2 separate regions of the Homo sapiens genome follow, and region 1 is linked to region 2. The links are contacts of gene promoters, found by promoter capture Hi-C in blood cells and fetal thymus (Javierre and others, 2016). All regions are on one chromosome and are shown on one strand. The core of a region is centred on a gene start or on the middle of the fragment in contact, and the rest is flanking DNA. Distances in the headings are between cores, read along the strand shown.

Evidence for each region. The method cuts DNA at HindIII sites, captures the fragments that hold promoters and counts their contacts. A CHiCAGO score of 5 or more calls a contact.
Region 1: a fragment that was not itself captured here is called in contact with the fragment with the promoter of GATM in region 2 in 2 of 17 cell types (M2 macrophages and M1 macrophages); the score reaches 5.8 in M2 macrophages.

Annotation. Positions count from the first base shown.
Region 1 is chr15:45,325,035-45,327,734 of GRCh38, reverse strand. No RefSeq gene overlaps it. Among named protein-coding and RNA genes, the nearest start is that of SLC28A2-AS1, 47 kb to the right of the region's middle. RefSeq lists an enhancer at 543-1,473. The HindIII fragment of the contact is 2,053 bases long and covers 324-2,376 here.
Region 2 is chr15:45,377,117-45,379,816 of GRCh38, reverse strand. GATM (glycine amidinotransferase) reads left to right here and starts at 1,273. Exons shown (of 9, transcript NM_001482.3): 1 at 1,273-1,432. The coding sequence starts at 1,364. RefSeq lists an enhancer at 925-1,004 and a silencer at 1,145-1,474. The HindIII fragment of the contact is 1,395 bases long and covers 375-1,769 here.

The sequences.
Region 1 (2,700 bases), core at 101-2,600, 52 kb after region 2:
CTCTGCTAAAAATACAAAACTTAGCCGGGCGTGGTGGTGCATGCCTGTAATCAGCTACTTGGGAGGCTGAGGCAGGAGAATTGCTTGAACCCAGGAGGCGGAGGTTGCAGTGAGCCGAGATTGCACCACTGCACCCCAGCCTGGGCAACAGAGTGAGACTCCATCTCAAAAAAAAAAAAAAAAAAAAAAGAAGTGAAGAAATGATTTCTTTTTTTGTTGCTATCCCTACTTTTATACCTAAATTTTGGCCAACTAATGTATACTGAAAATATAAATAGAGCATACAGGTTCCAATGATGAGTTACTTTGTTGATAAAGAAGCTTGTGGGTGAAGTGTTAGCAAAACCTTTTCTCTCCTACATGAAAATTTGACTTTTGGTTAACTTTCTACATCTTTTCCACTGGCAACCTAATAAGGACTGTGATACTGTGATATAGTAAGAAATACATATTGGGTCTTCAGGCCCCCAGTTTCTGGTACAGAGATTCTAAAATTCTGGTAACTTCCCGAGTGATAGGAGTGACAGGAGCGTCTTTTGTTAAAATCGCTGGTTTTTATCCCTGGTTCCAGGCGCAGAGCTTCTAAAAACTCTTTGAATTTTCTGAGCAATCGAGGTGACAGGAGCATCTTTTGTTATTTTCAACAAGCTCTTTTCGAGTGTACATGAATTATGTTAATTAGATGACTGGTGGCTGGAAGCCCATAGATAGCTTCAGGATGGGCACTGGTTGCCAGAGGAACCAAACATGTGATTATAGAGGATTGGAACTTTCAGCCCTACTCACCCCGAGGGAGGGAGAGAAAAGCTGGATTGAGTAAATCACCAATGGCCCATGATTTAAGCAATCACGCCTATGTAATAGAACCTCCATAAAAACCCTAAACAAAGGGCTTCAGAGAGCTTCTGAGTTGGAAAACACATCGAGCGGCTGATGAAGCCATCCCCACAGGGTTGACAAGGATTTCATGCTGAGTTCTGGGCAGAAATTTCGTTATAATTAAGCCTTAATCAGGCTGCACTTTGGCTCATTTCCTTGTTGCTGAAAGTCAATAGCACTAGATACTGCCCATTTGCACCCCCATTATTCCTATAGACAGGATCACCGCCGTTAGAATCATATGGCTTTTGTTTGAAGGTTGCCTAAGATGTTTTCAGATCCCAAACTCCAGTGAAACAGCTGAAACCAACCAGTTTGAAGACCCCCACAGAGAAATGGAATCAGCATGAGAATACAGCTTCTTCATCTTTCTGTCCCATGACTTTACCCTGCACTCTTCAACCAATCAATGATCTTCACACTTCAGCCCACTCCAAAACCCTTAAAATCTCTAGCCCCAGGCCGGGCACGGTGGCTCACGCCTGTAAACTTTGGGAGGTCCAGGTGAGTGGATCACCTGAAGTTAGGAGTTCAAGACCAGCCTGGCCAACATGGTGAAACCCCTGTCTCTACTAAAAATACAAAAATTAGCTGGGCATGGTGGCAGGAGTCTGTAATCCCAGCTACTCTGGAGGCTGAGGCGGGAGAATTGCTTGAACCTGGGAGGCAGAGGTGGCAATGAGCCGAGATGGCACCATTGCACTCCAGCCTGGGCGACACAAGCAAAACTCCATCGCAAAAAAAAAAAAAAAGCCCACAAAATCTCTAGCCCCAGATTGCTTGGGAGATGGAGTTGAGGTTTCCTCCCATCTCCTAGTTCGGAGACCCTACAATTAAACCTCTTTCTCTGCTGCACCCTGGTGTCTCTGCCTACTGACTTGCTGTGCACATGGGACAATGGATCTGCTACAGTTACACCGAGAGGGTGGGGTGCCCAGGGAGGGCACTGGAGCTCTGCACATCTCCCGTTTCACACCTTGTCCTCTGCCTGTTCATCTGTAGCCTTTATAATATCATTTATAAATAAACTGCTAAATGTCAGTATAATGATTTCCTGAGTTTTACAAGCCATTCTAGCAAATTATTGAACCTGAGGAGAGGGTTGTGGAAACCCCTAGTTTATAGCCATTAAGACAGAAGTATGGGAGGCTCAGCTTGTGATTGGCATCTGAAGTCTTGTGGGCAGTCTTGTGGGACTGGGCCCTTTCAACTGTGCCATCTGATACTAACACCAGGTAACTAGTGTCAGAATTGAATTCAATTGAATTATTGGATACCCAGTTGGTTTCTGGAGAGAAGGAGAATTTGAGGTTGGCATGGGAAAAAAAAAACACCACATATTTGGTGTCAGACATGTTCTATGGGTAAAAAATAGATCATAGTAATACAGTTCCCCCTTGAACAAGCTGGGGGTTAGAGGTGCTGACCTCCCAACACAGTTGAAAATCTAAGTATAATGTTTTACTTCCCAGGAACTTAACTACTTGATGAGAAGCTTTACCAATAACATAAACCGTTGATTAGCATATTTTATATGTTATATGTATTATATACTATATTTATACAATGAGGAAAGCTAGAAAAAAGAAAAACATTATTAAAATCATAAGGAAGAGAAAATATATCTTTATTAAGCGGAAGTAGATCATTATAAAGGTCTTCACCTCATCATCTTCGTGTTCAGTAGACTGAGGAAGAAGAGGGAGAGAAGGGGTTAGTCTTGCTGTCTCAGGGGTGGCAAAGGCAGAAAAAAGTTCATATATAAGTGGACCCATGCAGTTCAAACCTGTGTTGTTCAAGGGTCAGTTGTAGTAGGAGAAG
Region 2 (2,700 bases), core at 24-2,523:
AGGGTTTCATCATGTTGACCAGGATAGTCTCAAACTCCTGACCTCAGGCAATCCGCCTGCCTCGGCCTTCCCAATTGCTGGGATTACAGGCGTGAGCCACTGCACCCGGCCTCATACAGCTCTAATGCCACGCATCAAGTTCTGCATGTACAATCTCTCATTTTGGCCTCTCAGCAACCCCCCATGTGCTAGGGACAGTAAATTCTATTGTTCTCACTTTGCAGATAAGAAGACTGCAATTCAGGAAGACATATAGTAGTCTATAAGTGATTCAGGACTGGAACTCAGTTATCCTAATTCCCTCTCGGAGGCTCTTTCCACCATGCCATCTGCTCGTCTGGTGCTTTCCATCCATGAACTCTGGAAAACAAGCTTGAGATACCAAAATTGAAAAGACAGCTCATCAAAAATGAATAGTTATAATTCTATAAGTACAAAAATGAAATACTCAAATCTCTTGCCCCCCCTCCTGCTAGGAGCATAAATGTTAACCTGAGTTCTCTAGCTCTGTACAAATCCACAGCAATTAAGACTGCACTGTGAGGGAAAATACTTTTCTAAAAAAGAATCCTGATCAAGTTGAAACAAAAATTTTAAAACATGAAATGGAAGGAACGAAACTGTCGTCCTCCCTTATTTCTGACCCACACTTGTCGATTTTCATGACGGAGTTTCTCAAGCCAGGGGCATATGGCCAAAGACCATGTGAAATGCCAGGTGTTCCAAATAACAACCGACGGGGTACTGGAAGGAAAGCACTGCCTCCCCGGGGAACAAATGGCCCAATTTCCAGACTTAGTTTTCTGCAGTCTCAAACCCGATGTTGCACCAAGAAACCACCTAATCTTTAGGTGGTTTCGTTTACCGAAAAATGAGGTGACTGGTTCAGTGCGCATATGTGAATTTAAGGGTAACACTGTACTCACGCTTTGCATATTTAAATTCTCAAATATTCACTTAATATATGCATAGACCATTGTCACTTCGTCAGAAGTCGCGTCCTGCCCAGTTGCGCGAGACTCCAACGGGCCTTCTTGCGACGCTCGGGTCTGGGTCCGGGTCCGGACGTGCAACAGAAGCCGTCAGTGGCCCCGCTGGCTAAAAAAGGGCAAGCATCGGAGGCTCGAGCCAGCGGCCGCGGCGCTTCCCGACAGTTCCTAATTCGGGGCGCTACGCCGGCCCCACCACCTGTTCCCGGCAGCCAATGGGGCCGCGGGGGGCGGCCGGGGCGGAGCGCGGCTACAAAAGGCCTCGGGCCCCGCGCGCCCGCCCACCCCGCTCCGGGCGCGCTCTCGGGAAGGCTTGGACCGACGCGGCCCAGAGGCCAGGAACATTCCGCGCGTGGACCAGCCGGGCCAGGGCGATGCTGCGGGTGCGGTGTCTGCGCGGCGGGAGCCGCGGCGCCGAGGCGGTGCACTACATCGGATCTCGGGTGCGTGCGCCACCGGCCTCGTCTGGCGGCCGCGTGACTCACTCGATCCTGCGGGCGGCGTGGAGCACTCGCTCGCTCCCTGCCCGGAGCCGCCACCTTCCCTCGCTTTCCCTAGCCGGAATTGCACGAGAGTGTCCCTTCTGGTATCCCTGGGAAGCTCAGCTTCAAGAGCCTTCGCAGGCTCCAGGAGCTGGGCGGCGTCCCCCAGTCAGGGGGAACTTGCGTTGCGGCTCCAGCCCTTGGGGTCCACTTGCTGTCTGCGCGTCCGCGGCCTGCTGGCCCACGGCGCAGGGGGCGCCGCCCCCCTCTACCGGACCTTGGTGCGCTGCACCAAGCTTCCCGCTCGGAGCAAGGGGTTGGGACGACGGAGGCTCCTCTTAGTAAAAGGGTGGCGTTATTGGGGTTCAGTAGCCTGAGTGGGCGTCGAGTTGGGGAGATTTCTGGAAAATGCGTGTGGGGTAGATGGATGGGGAGAAGAGGCAAGCAAAGTGGGAATCGGGGACGGGGAGCGAGCGACCAGATTCACTCCAAGTATAACATGGGATCCCACGTCTGGAGAGGAGTCGGGGCGAGTGCAGCCTGTAAGCAGAGTTTCTGCGCTCCCCGCCCTCGGCTGCCCTGGCAGCAGACCCTCCCATGCTTCTAGTACTGGAATCGCTCCGACATTCTGGCTTCCTCCCAGCAACTGGTTCCTGAACAGCTGTCATTCTCCGTCTTTCTTCTGCCTCCACCCGAGTTCTCCTCCTGCCCACTTCCTAAGGCTTTTAACAGAGCAGGATAGAGATTTGGGGGGTTGAGGTTTGCTCAGGGGTTGAGGGACCCTCCCTGCTCTAGATTTTATAGGCCATGCATTTTTAAAAGGCTTTTGAAGTTTTTAGATCTCCTTCTTATTTGTTTGAATTTACGCCTGAGCTAATCCTGACCTTGGCTAGGGTACTGTGGACCATCTGTAAAATGGAGCAGATGGCAGTTGCTCACTCTCAGAATTGAAGTGCCAAAGAATGCGAAGTGTATGTCAAAGATGAAAAAAATTTGATTTGAAGCTGGTTATTCTGAAAGATAAGGTCCTTTACAAATGTTCCCAACTTTTCATTTGTAAAAAAAAATAAATAAAAAGCCTAATATTGGTAACCTTTGATACTTAAGGGAAAAGGAGGTTCCGTCCCCAGCTGAGACTGGCGGGAAGTTTTAGAGCAGCTGTCTATGGTTTTCTGAGAGGAGGACTGACCCATCTGCAAAACAGTTGCTTAAAGCTTGAGTGCAGGAAT